2 separate regions of the Homo sapiens genome follow, and region 2 is linked to region 1. The links are contacts of gene promoters, found by promoter capture Hi-C in blood cells and fetal thymus (Javierre and others, 2016). All regions are on one chromosome and are shown on one strand. Each heading gives the region's core, a stretch centred on a gene start or on the middle of the fragment in contact. The rest is flanking DNA. Distances are from core to core; before and after follow the strand shown.

Region 1 (6,230 bases), core at 2,604-5,103:
TACCTTTCCTTTATTGAATGTATGGCCCCACAACTAATGTCAAATGGTTCATTCATTTATTTAAAAAACATCTGTTAAGCCTCCTACTCTATGTCATATACTAGGCTAATGGCTAACGGTATAATTAACTGAACTGATACAGCCCTTCACCCACTTGGAATATATAACTGAAAGCGTAATTTGTAGAAACTCTAAGGAAATTAAGAGTTTTAAGAAAAAACAAACATTTTATCTGTCACAACACATGAACAATGCAACTTTGTGTAAATGTTAAATTCTTCATTAAAGGAGATATTTAACTGTAGGGTAAAAGATCATGACAGGTGATTTAGAAATTAAAGCTGGGTCTAATTTGGGCCTCTTAAATTAGATGGGCAGGTAGCCTAGACCAGTGCACTCAAAATGTAGCCCGCCAAATCAGTGCCTGTCTGTGAACTTTTATTACCAGGCAGTAAGGACCAAAGTACAGAAGTCAAGAGTAAGCACTTAGAAAATGTTACAGCAATTTGAAAAAATCATTTTATGTCTGTAGAATCTAATAATACAAATGCGGGCTTATCTTTTGTATGTCTTTTCTTTCATTTTCTAGTAATTCATGGTTAATTTATTTTACTAAATTAACAGTCTTCTGTGATGGATTAGGAAACAAACAAACAAATGACAACAAACATTTTCCTTCACTAGGGGAGTTTGACCAGTACTCTACTAGAGCTTTGCTACTTGAAGTGTGGTCAGTGGAACAGCAGTTTCAGGATCACCTAATAGATTGCTAAAATGCAAAATCCGAGGCCCCTGCCATAGACTCTCTGAATCACAATTCGCATTTTAACAAGATTCCCAGGAGATATTTTTACACATTAAAGTTTGAGAAGCACTGGCCTAACGATTTCCGAAGCCTCTCATAACTCTGAAATCTTATAATTTACTTCAGATAGAGAATTTCAGAGTTGAAAGACCCTCAGAGACACAGTCCATCTCAACATCTTACAGATGGAAAAACTGAGGCACATGGAGGGGAAGTCATATGTCCAAGATAATCAGCAAATCATCTGAGCTAGGAATGGAACCCAAATTTGCTAACAGCCAAGTCAGTGTTCCATTCTAGCAACCACATACTCACCCCTTTCCACCCAGTCCCACTGCATTGTATCCCCTCAGTGATGTAATTATTCCTGAGGTGTTTTCTGATAAAACAATATATTCTTCTACCTTCTGCATACTGTATGAACCTTGAACTACCACTATTTCAAATGTGGTACTTTTCTTCATGAAATTAGAAAATTTCATAATTTTCTTTATGAAAATTCCTGCCACTCAAATCTTCCCACACGCCTATTGTCCGGATGCCATATAGACATCCTGGGGGCTTTAGAAGGACTAGTACTAACCAATTTCTGGTCTTTAGGAATATGAAAGCGACCTTCCTTGCTCCCATCAGTCCAGTTGACACCAGATAGCAAGCTCATCCAAGGAAGAGAATATACACTATCAGGGCTGCTCTAGAAAACTCCGTAGGGTCAATTTGTGGCTAACAAAACAAGTGGGCTATTAGGCCATATTAAGAATAGTCTAATATCCAGCATGAAGTAAATGATAATCCTTTACTCTGTGGTCTTATTGGATCCAAGGGTTAAGAGGGAGGCATGATTGCTGTCTTCAACTAACTGAAGAACTATTATTAAGAAAAAGCAAATTTGTTCCAGATAGTCCCAAAGAACCAACGAATATAAGTTACTGGGAAACAGACTTTGGCTTATGATGGGGAATACTTTCTGACAATCAGAGTTGCTCCATGACACAAAGAGCCACCTAATGCACTCTCTGTCACTGCAGGGAGTTCAACTAGAAATCAGTCAACAAATTGGATGCTTAGGATAAATTCAAGAACTGAGTAGAGAAATAAAGCTTAATGAATGACCTTTTGGGCTCCTTCCAGTTCCAAGGTTTTAGTATTCTAAAATTTTCGGCACAGAACAACTCCAAATGCTCAGGAAATAAGAATGAGGTCTGTTTTTAAAAGGTGCAGTTTGGAGCATGTTGGGTGGATGAGGCTATAAAAAGTGAAGTACGATTTTCAAGGAAAGGAAGCTGACCAATCAAAGTCTTTTGGGCAGCCCCTCCAGAAATCCAGGTGAAGCCCGGCTCCAGGCTGAGTTGCTGTTACTCTACACGAAAGCCAGGCCGCTACTTTCCAAAAAACCTTGCCAAGCCACACTGTACCTATTGTATCTACACTTGCCTAACAGACAAAGGTGCAAAATTCTCCCCAAGAAGGCAGTAGTGCTTCATGGTTAAGACCACGGATTCTGGAACCAGGTTGCCAGTTTAATTTCCAACTGAGACATGTAATTGCTCTGTAATCTTGGATAAGTTACTTAACCTCTCTGTGCCTCAATTTTGTGAGTAAACCAAAGATAATAATAGTGTCTGTTATTCAATGCACTATTCTGCTACAGTAATTTAATGAAGTAATACACACCAAACACTCAGCCCAGAATCCAAAATATACTACATACTCGATAATTTTAGCAATTAGTATTAGGGATGTCAGAATTACTACCACAGGCACAGCAGCGTCACTCACTTAGAAAGCTCCCATCAAACAATTGGATCCCTTCCCCTACCAGTTCTGAAGGGCTATACTACAAGAGCCTCAATCAGTCTTTGCAGAGCTCCAGACAACCAGAACTTGCTGACTCTCAATAAGCCAAACTACTCACGTTAGTAATCCTACCTCATCACCCTGCTTTCCATAAATCCAACAGCCACCCTTCCCCCAGTCCTCTTGCCCATGCCACCCGCAGCCACAGCCACAGCCACAGTCAGAGGAGCAACAAACTGGGAGGCCAGTTGCAGACAAACCATCAGGTGTTTCCTCCCTTCCAAGGACACAGCTGGACTTAACATGATGCCTATGAGTGAGATGGGGTGGGGTATCTCAATCTCTGATCTAGGATGTCAGCTCAATTATCTGGAATTGAGGGTGGGCAGGCAATGGAGCTTCTCGCCGGGAAACAAGGCAAACCTCCCAAGTTTGTGGAGGAAGTCAGGCCCAACCCCACAGTGAGCCCCTCAAAGGAAGGGGGGAGGGCTCAATCTGCTTTAAAGGAAGCAGTTATTTACAACTTTCTACTCACTTGCATGTGGGGGAGGTAATGGGGAGATGGGGAAAGAGGCTGCAAGGTACCCTCCTTCTTTCTTATTTCCAGCAGTGAGAAGCAGCTGCGGAGAAAGAGTTAAAGAAGGGAGAAAGCTCCAGCCATTACTACATCCCTGGTGCCTAGAGCTGTCTGGGGGGTCATGACAGTGCTGTCTGCTTTGGCTAGGGGCCACTCCGTGGCTTTCTGCAGCAGCTGCTGGGGCCCCCCAAGCAATTTGCAAGGTCAGTGCTGACCTGCTTCCAAAGAGGAACAAAACAATTCACTGACAATGAAGCAAATCACGCATATACCACATCGCAACCCCCCTTCCTCAAATCGGGTTTTACCCCAGTGTCTCCCTGCTCAGATGCCGCCTCTGGGCTTCCACCAGCCCCACTGGGGAACCCAGGATAGCATCACAGCTGCAGAGCATGCCTCGCCTCCCGGCCAACCCAAGGAGACTCTCAGTACGGGGGAGAGATGCTATCGCTAAAGGAGACCTGAGCTTGGGGGAGGGGGAAGAAGGAACATCAATGTTTCTTACCGAGCTCTACAGTCTGAGCGGAAAGGAGAGAAGGATGAATGAACTGAAACAAGTTGGAGGTTGAGCCCTGACAGAGCTCGGCTTCTGGCTTCTTCTTCTCTCTCTGGGTCTCTCTCCTGGTCCCTCTCTCGGTCTGTCTCTCTGGTTTGCTCGCTAGCTTGCGCGCGCTCACGCTCTCTCGCTCTCTCTCTCTCTCTCTCTCTCTCTCTCTCTCTCTCTCAATCTGCCTCCCTCCCTCTCTGTCAGTTTCTCCCTCCCCTCCTCCCCTCCCCTTCTCCCCTCCCCCTTTGCTGGCTTTAGGTTCACCACTGGTGCTTAGCACGCGGCTGTGCTGGGGCTCTGAATACAGTACTGCAAGGCTTTAGATGTGGTTGTTTTACGAAATACTAAAGTAGTATTTTATTCCTTAAGGCATCCAACAGAGAAATAGAGGGAAGCCCAGAGAGAAAGGGAGGAGCAGAGGCAGCAAAGGGAAGAGAAAGAGAGCAAAAGGGTATGAGCGAATAGGAGGATAAAGGAAGTATGGGTTACTGTAGCTGATGTGTGATGCTTACTTGCTGCTCCGAGACTGAAGAGTGAGCTTCCTCCTTTTTCCCTCTGTCTCCCTTATATCCTTATGGGCGTGCCTTCTAACCCAGGCTGCAAATAAAGGTTTGACAATCCTGTCTGTTCAGATTCCATCTCTGGGGACAATAATGAGCTAGAAAAATGTACATCAAAGGGGTTGTCATTCATACTCCACTAAGAAGAAAGAGTTCCGCCACATTGATCCCCTGTTGACCTAACTTCCACCCCCACCCTCAACCAAGTAGAAGTGCAGACCCAATTCAAAACTATCAGTTCTAGCTTCCCTGTAGGTAAGACAGACAAGCAGCAGAACCACAATGCTTTCTTTTCAAAAATTCCAAAGGGAATATAGATGTATGTAATTGTGTGAGCCTATACATGAGTTGCACAAGGACTAAGGTGGGGAGAAGGATAATTATTGACTCAAAGTATAAAAGAACTATATTCCCATTGGGTCAAAAGAAAAAAAGCAACCTAGGCAAAGCACAGTAACAATGCAGCATAGAGTGGAAAAAGACCTAGGCTAAAAATAAAATAAAGGAACTTGAGTTTGAGTTCTGCCTCTGAAAATTGCTGTGTTGCTTTCAACGAGTTCTTCAATCTGGCCCTCAATATCCTCAGTGACCAAATGAATGGTAATGGAAATAGATGATCTTAAAAGACCCTTCCAGAACTAACAGTCTAGGAATCTAAAGACAGGAAAATTCCAGGTAAAGGAGAAGTTGGCCCTTAGAAAATAAAAACTAAACTGCCACATTTCAAAAGTTCTCCAAAGGTGAGTCCCCAAATGCGACTCCAAATCACATTGATTCAACATTCCATCTTTTGTGTTTCAGGGATAATACCAATATAAGCACGTGAATAAAGAGCTGTTCCTATCAAAGAATTCAGCATCTGCTTACATATAATGATTAGTATAAAAGTTTTCTTAGTCAAACTCTTCATATTGTGATTTCTAGTCCTGTTAGAAAAATTCAGAGGGCATCTAATTGAAAGTGAGTTATATAGTGTGTTTAAGTATACTAGTGTCAATATACATACAGTGACTGGGACATAATAGGCATTTACAATGTTGCCCATAGTGTGCCATTTCTCTTTAAACTACCATCCTGTTGGTTTTTTTCCCCCAAATTTCTAATGCTCTCTACTCCTGCCAAATGAAGTACATGTGCTACACTCCTATACATCTTCAAAAGCATGTGTCCATACATTGAGTAGAAGATAGATAGGTACTCGTAAGCTTAGAGTCACTGAGCTAAAGGGACCCATAAAGATAACCATGTCATTGTACAGAAAAAGAAACTAGACTAAATAGAAAATATAATTCACACAAGGTCATAGTGAGTCAGTGGCAGAATCAAGGCCAGTACTCAGATTGCTGACTGCAGGTACAGTATTTTTCTCTACAAAATTAACATGTAACTTGCACATAAAGCAAGTGTGTATGTGAGCATAAAGCTATAAATACTTTTTCCTGCATAGGTACCCATTTTCATGTGTAGATTTGTTTGCATAAATGTCCATTGGATTTAATAGATTAGTATACTGGCAAAAAGAAATATTAAGGTTGCTGTATTAGTTTTCTAGGGCTGCCATAACAAATTACCATAAATTCAGTAGCTTAAAACAACAGAAATTTATTGTCTCACAGTTCTGAAGGTCAGAAGTCTAAAATCGAGATGCTGGCAGGGTCAAACTACTCCAAAAGTTCTAGAGAATGATTTCTTGTCTCTTCCAGCTTCTGGTGGTTTCCAGTGTTCCTTGGCTTATCACTGAATCTCTGCCTCGGTCTTCAAATGGTCTTCTCCTCTGATTTCTGTGTGCCCAAATCTCCCTCTTTTTTCTTATAAAGACACCAGTCATTGGATTTAAGGCCCAACCTAAATCCGGAATGATTTCATCTCAAGATCTTTAACTACTTCCTTTTGCAAATACCATACCATTGAAATGAGGTCACACCCTGAGGTTATAGACGAACA
Region 2 (5,842 bases), core at 1,088-3,587, 700 kb before region 1:
TGGAGGAGGAGAGTGGGTGTGGACTTGGTCCCCAGGGAGCTCTGCTGAGGTAGAGCTCCCCAGTTGAACAGGGAGCTGGGGTAGGCAGGCATGGGGTACCAGCTGGCCCCAGCAGGAGGAGTGGTGTGCCATACTGGCTGTGGGTTCAGTGGCAGGTCAACTTCCCCCTGGCAGAGACTGAGCTGCCAAGAACTAAGTGATTTTGCTTCTCTCTGAGGCAGACATTTCCCTGGAAGGACAATCTAGCCCTGATTTAGGACCTGAAACCAAGCCAGTTACAGTTAGCCTGACGGGGAGGGTGATGAAGATGCCTTTCTAGATAAAATGTTTGCTAAGCCCAGGTCCAAAAGGGACTCAATGCTGTGGCTGGGACCAAGGCCACGCTTAGAGAGGGCCCGTAGGAACACTGGCCTGGGAGCCCTGTAACCTAAGCTTGGTCCTGTTCCACTCCCATTTTCTGGGGACTTGGACTATTCTATTCCTGGAAATCTGGAACATAGCACAGTAGGGTAGCTGGGGAAGAGGACAGTATCCAATAGAGCCTCTTTCCTTGGCTTCCCTAGGCTTGAGGAAGACCCTGCTCTTTCCCAGCACTGCCAGCCTAACTGCATATTCACATGACTCAAACTGGGCAGTGCTAAGGGGGCCTCAGCAAGCTTCTGTCTTGTCTTCTTTGGACAGATTTGTCCCTGGAACGTGATATTTGCCCAGGGTCTTGAAAGATGCAGAGGAGCTCGATGGGCAAGCAGGATGAGATGCCAGGTCCCACAAGCCAAGTGAGCAAGAGTGTTGAAGAGCAAGACCAATGGCCTCAGTCTGTGGCCAGGAGGGGGTTCAGTGGAGCATGAACCTAACTCTCTCCTGGGCTCTACAGATCCTGGAGTTAAAGTGATCTCAGTGGTGAACTGAACAAATTTCTTTCCCTTTTGGGTTCAGTTTCCCACTTATTTTAAGAAAGGAAGTTCGCAGGCCGTTTGCAGCCCTCCTGGGGAGTCAGAGGATAGATTCGTCTTACCTCAGCTTGTACACTTGCATCATTCAAGTTTGTCTAAGCTCAAACTTCCAGCCAGGACTTTGGAGTTGCCAGTTTCTACGGATCAATGTTTTTAATTAGATTGGGTTTCTTGTTTCTCCTTTATTGAATCGGGTAAGCAAATTAAATTGGGCAATTTGTTGTTAGGTCATTTAAGTGCCAACTGGGTTTCATAACCTGGGTTTGTGCCATATCCAAGTGCCTCCAACTTCTTCCTGGAGTGGTGGAATCAGAGGCCAGCTGGAGGTGTAGGCATCCTAGGGAACCGTAGGCGTGGGTCTCTGGCTCTTGAGGGTCTGAGTCCCTGGGGCATAGACCCACTCTCTTTGTTGGTCTAGAAAGGCAAGGTGGATGGTCACAGGGGCTCAGGACTGAAGCTGGATGGGAACAGTGGTGAGATAATAATCAGGAGTTCCCAGGGTTGCCTGTGGACAAGGCACTTCCTTGAACCCGTAGCCTCTGTTTTGTTATCTATATAACGGGTAAGGTCTCTGGAGACCCTTCTGTTCTGGCATTCTGTTGCACTCTGGCTCTGTGAAGGTGGAATCTGCTCCACCAAGATATAGCTTGTTTGCCTGGTGCTGGAGGGGGCACAGCTTTCGGGATCCGAGTCTTGGAAGGCCGACTGAAGTGGGCTGGGCAAGAGGCCTGGGTGGGGCAGCAGCCTGGGCCAGGTCTGGACAGCGCCTGGCTGACCAAGCTAAGGCTGCCTCGGGCTCCAGACAGCTCGCCCTGCTGCTGTTCCACCTCCGGCCGTAAAGAATGGTGGGGACGCTCTTGCACCGCGATTCGAGCGCACCGTTGGGCTTGCCAAGCCCTTGCTCAATCTCCACGTAGCGGGAGCTTTTTTGCACGACCTGTACTCCAGGAGTGGGAGCGCCCCAAGACCCTCTGGCGAAGAAAGAATTTGAGCAGGGCAGCTGCAGGCACAGGGCATGGCAGGAGGAAGCTCTTCAGCGCCTGCCTCAGATCTCCTCATCTCCACATCCCCCTTGGAGCCTTTGCCCTCACCCTCTCCTCTCAATGGCCACATTTGCCAACTACACGGTGCCACCCTGCAGGGTTTTTGTCGGCAACCCATTCCATCTCTTGCCCAAAGAAAGGGAGGAGGGTTGAGCTGTAGGCCATTCACCTCTGGGACCTGTTCTGAGAGAGGGTAAGGCTGGGACTGCTAGGCCACCTTCCTGGCTCCTGGAGATACAAGAGTGAGGAGGCAGGTCTGCAGACAGGCTGCCCAAACCTGTTGAATTCAGGGAGGTAGTGACAAGATGTGACAGGCGAACAGGGACAATGGCTGGAGGGCTCCAGCAGGGGCTAGGGACAGGTATTCAGGGCATCGGGCTTGGTAAATAACATTAACAAGGCAGCAACTTGAGCAGGCAAATTGGTAATGCAGACAGGGCTCCGTGACTGTGCTGGCTGGCTGCCTGTGAGTCACCTCTGTGGATCGATTTAATTGCTGAGCACTTGGATATGCAATGTGCTTAGAGAGGCTGAGTTGAAGCCCCGCCTCAAAACCAGTGCAACAATTTGGGTGTACTACCAGTGGCCCAGGAGCATTGCTTCCTCAGGCCAGGCCCGGAAGCCTTAGCTCATGTCTCTCCCCTTTTCTCTCTCTTTTGTAAGCACTGGGTCCCTCAGGTTTCAAGGTGAAACAGACTTCTTTTCTAAAGCCACCCTGATCTGGGGGGTCTCTAGAGATCTCCCCAGCCCCATTCAATCAAGTCACCTCTTGTTGCTTGATTGCATTGTCTCTGTCCAGTGCCTGACCCAGAGTAGATGCCAACAAATATTTTTAAAAGAATGGGAAAACCAGTGTATTTCTTGATTTTTTTCAGGTGCTTGCTGTTTTCTATTATGCCTATGAAATAAAAATACAGCCCTTTAGGAAACAATGTTGTGTCCGGTGTGTCCATAGCATAGCAGACGTTTCAGAGAATAGACCAGTTTTGTGCAGATGTGGACTGAGGGCTAGGTGGGGGAGTAAAGAATCTGAGAAACAGGAACTCTGCCAGCATCTCATTTTACAGGCACGGTCTTGTTCTTCCTTTTCTGCTCTGACCATGTGGAACAGAAAACAGTTTTCCTTGGCTCAAAGACAAGGCAGGCGAGGCAGTGACTGTGCGTAAACGTGCCGAGAGCTAACTGTACCTGTTATGGAACAGTTTCAGGTACTGTGTGCAGAAAGGAGTGGAGTGTGCGGTTCAAAACACCGGCTGCTGTGGTCATGCCAACCCAAAGTTGCTCCTGAACCTCAAAGTGATAGCATCCCCAGACTGAGCCACTGTGGGCCGGAAACCCAGGTTTCTGGTGGGTTGTTTACCCAATTGCGGAGATAACATCATAGCCAGATGGAGTAAGTCCTGATTGGTGACATTTGAGGATTTTGAGATGGAGCTGGCTAAAACTTGATTTTTCTATTTTCAAATCTTGTCATGTATTGAATCGTTTTCGAATGGCATGAAAATCTTATTTAGTGGTTAATATCTGCCCATTATTTTAAGAGTAGTTTTCATAACCAGTGACCATCACTAGATCAGGGCCACTAGTAAATCACTAGTACTTTGAATTACTGGCCCTACAAAGCCACAGCTTGGAGTTGGAAGCAGCTTTTCTCTGCTACTCAAAGGGGTGGTGACTGTACTGAGTGGCCAGCTTTGAGATTACTGCCATACACACTCCTGGGTTCTACCTGGCTTCCGCTCTGGGGATTCAACCTAGACCTAGGGCTGGGCCGAGACCTCCGCCTCCCCCATTGTGGGATTGAGGGGCGTGGAGGTGAGGTAAGGCTGTGGCCAGCTCTGAATGGAGAAAGGAATAAGAAAGGAAGGAGAGAGGGAGAGAAGGAAGGCAAGAAGAAGGGAAAGAGGAAAGAAGAAAGGAGGGGAGGAAATAAGGGAGGAAGAGAAGAAGAAAAGAAGAGAGTGAGGGAGATATCTGGGACCCTATCCTGGCAACTTATGGCGGCAGAGTGATGACAGGTGGAAAAGCTTAGCTGACTCTCATGCCAGGCCAACATGCAGAGCTTGGTGTTCAGCTTTGCTGGGTGGCAGGGCTCACTCGGAGGGGGCATGAAAGGGTCACTGGTGGAGTGGAAGGGGTCTTGGCAGGTCATGAGCTGGCTCCCCTCTGCTGGGGAAATGCCACAAGGACTCTTGAGAGACAAGCGGCAGGCCATTGTCATGTTCCTTTTGAAATGGGTCTTCCCAGGCTTGGATTTGGTCACCCCTCACAATTGGGTCACAGATGCCATCTGCAGTGGCACTCCTTGCCTTTACCTTTCTTTGCTCCCCTTCCAACTCCTTTCTTTTTGTGCTTCTCTCTCCTCTCTTTGCTCTCTTGCTCCTCTTCCTCCTGCCCCTCCTCCTTCCTTGCTTCTTTCTCCCTCTGTGGCTCTCTCATCTGCTTTCCCTCCTCCTCGCCCTTTCTTCTGTTCCTCCTTTTGCCTCTGAGACCACTCTTCCCTCCTCTCCCCCTTTTGCTTCCCCTTTTCTCCTCCCTGCTTTATCTCCCCCTCTAAAGCTCGCTTTTTCCTTCCCCCATGTCATTCTTTGTCCCCTCCCCAGGCACTTTTTTCTCTGTCCTCCCGAATCCTCCCATCCTCCTCTTCTCTGTCTTTCAGGATGGCTCAGCCATCTTTTCCTGCTGCCTGCCTCTCTCCTCCCTATGGCTCTGTCTTTTCCAGCAGCCTAGTCCCTGCTTCTGCCTCACCTCTCATCATCCCTCTTCCCTTCTCACAGTTCTTGCTCCAGCTTATCCTCCAAGCCCCTTCTCTTCCCTTTCCTTCTCAGTCTGTCTCCTCCCTATGTTTCAGGCTTCTAGCCCACCCTTCTTCCTCCCAGCTCCCAGCATCCCAAGCAGCAGACTCCTGGGACCAGCCTCTGGATCCAGTGGTACATGAAGCGGGAGAAAGGAAGGTAGTAGAAGGATATAGCCTCGACAGACTTTGCACTGAGCTGAAGGCATTGGACCCAGAAAAGCCACCAACCCTCCCCAGTCATATTCCCAGGCCAGGGCAGCTCCTAGAGATGTTACACACAGATCATCATTTCTGCCATTGCACCAAAACCTGCTAGAGGATGCTGGCAATGGCTTTCTGGGGACTCGCAGAGTCTCAAGGGAGTGGACATGGTGGTGGCTGCACAAACATTGTCTTAAGTGTCCCATTATACAGCTGGGGACTCTGAGCCCTACATTCAGAAAGTTAAAGAACTGGGATCAGAAGTCAAAGTTAGGAATAACAGAGCGAGATTCTTCGCCTGTGGAGTCTGCACACATGTATCAGAGATGTGGGGACACATGTGTGTTTGTGTGTTAAGTGATTTTCTTAGCATGTTTCACACCCATGCCCACACACCCCTACACCCACAGCCACTCTTCAACCTTGTGATACAAGTGGAAAGTGAATTTGTGCTATTTCTGAAAGACGAATTTAATATTCAGGGAAGTACGAGCTCCGGGAGATTTATGTTGGAGTCCTGAATGGAAGTGATATTGGGCAAGACTAGGCCACAGTGTCCCCATTTTCAACAGAAGACTGGACTAAATGGTCTCCAAGGGTTTTCTAGCTGTGGTGATTTTGGCCCACCACAGGCCCATTTTGCTCCAGACACTATACGTGTGTGGTTTCCTTTAAGCCTGGCATTAAGTCAACAAGCTAGATTTCTCCATTTGTACATACAACAGCCAAGGTACAGGGAGCTTAACTAATGGGCCCTAGAGTCCCAGTAAGTGAAAGATCTGGGATTGGAACATGGGTCTGCTTGGCTCCAGACCTCACTTATCCTGTGCATCAAGGCAATTTCTGAC

Evidence for each region. Contacts are between HindIII fragments. The CHiCAGO score rates a contact against its expected background, and 5 or more counts as called.
Region 2: a contact is called between a fragment that was not itself captured here and the fragment with the promoter of GABRA3 in region 1, in 1 of 17 cell types (megakaryocytes). The highest score is 5.1, in megakaryocytes.

The regions. Positions count from the first base shown.
Region 1 is chrX:152,447,462-152,453,691 of GRCh38, forward strand. It overlaps GABRA3 (gamma-aminobutyric acid type A receptor subunit alpha3), which reads right to left and starts at 3,854. Exons shown (of 10, transcript NM_000808.4): 1 at 3,685-3,854. The HindIII fragment of the contact is 3,586 bases long and covers 1,904-5,489 here.
Region 2 is chrX:151,751,760-151,757,601 of GRCh38, forward strand. No RefSeq gene overlaps it. Among named protein-coding and RNA genes, the nearest start is that of CNGA2, 20 kb to the left of the region's middle. The HindIII fragment of the contact is 3,367 bases long and covers 655-4,021 here.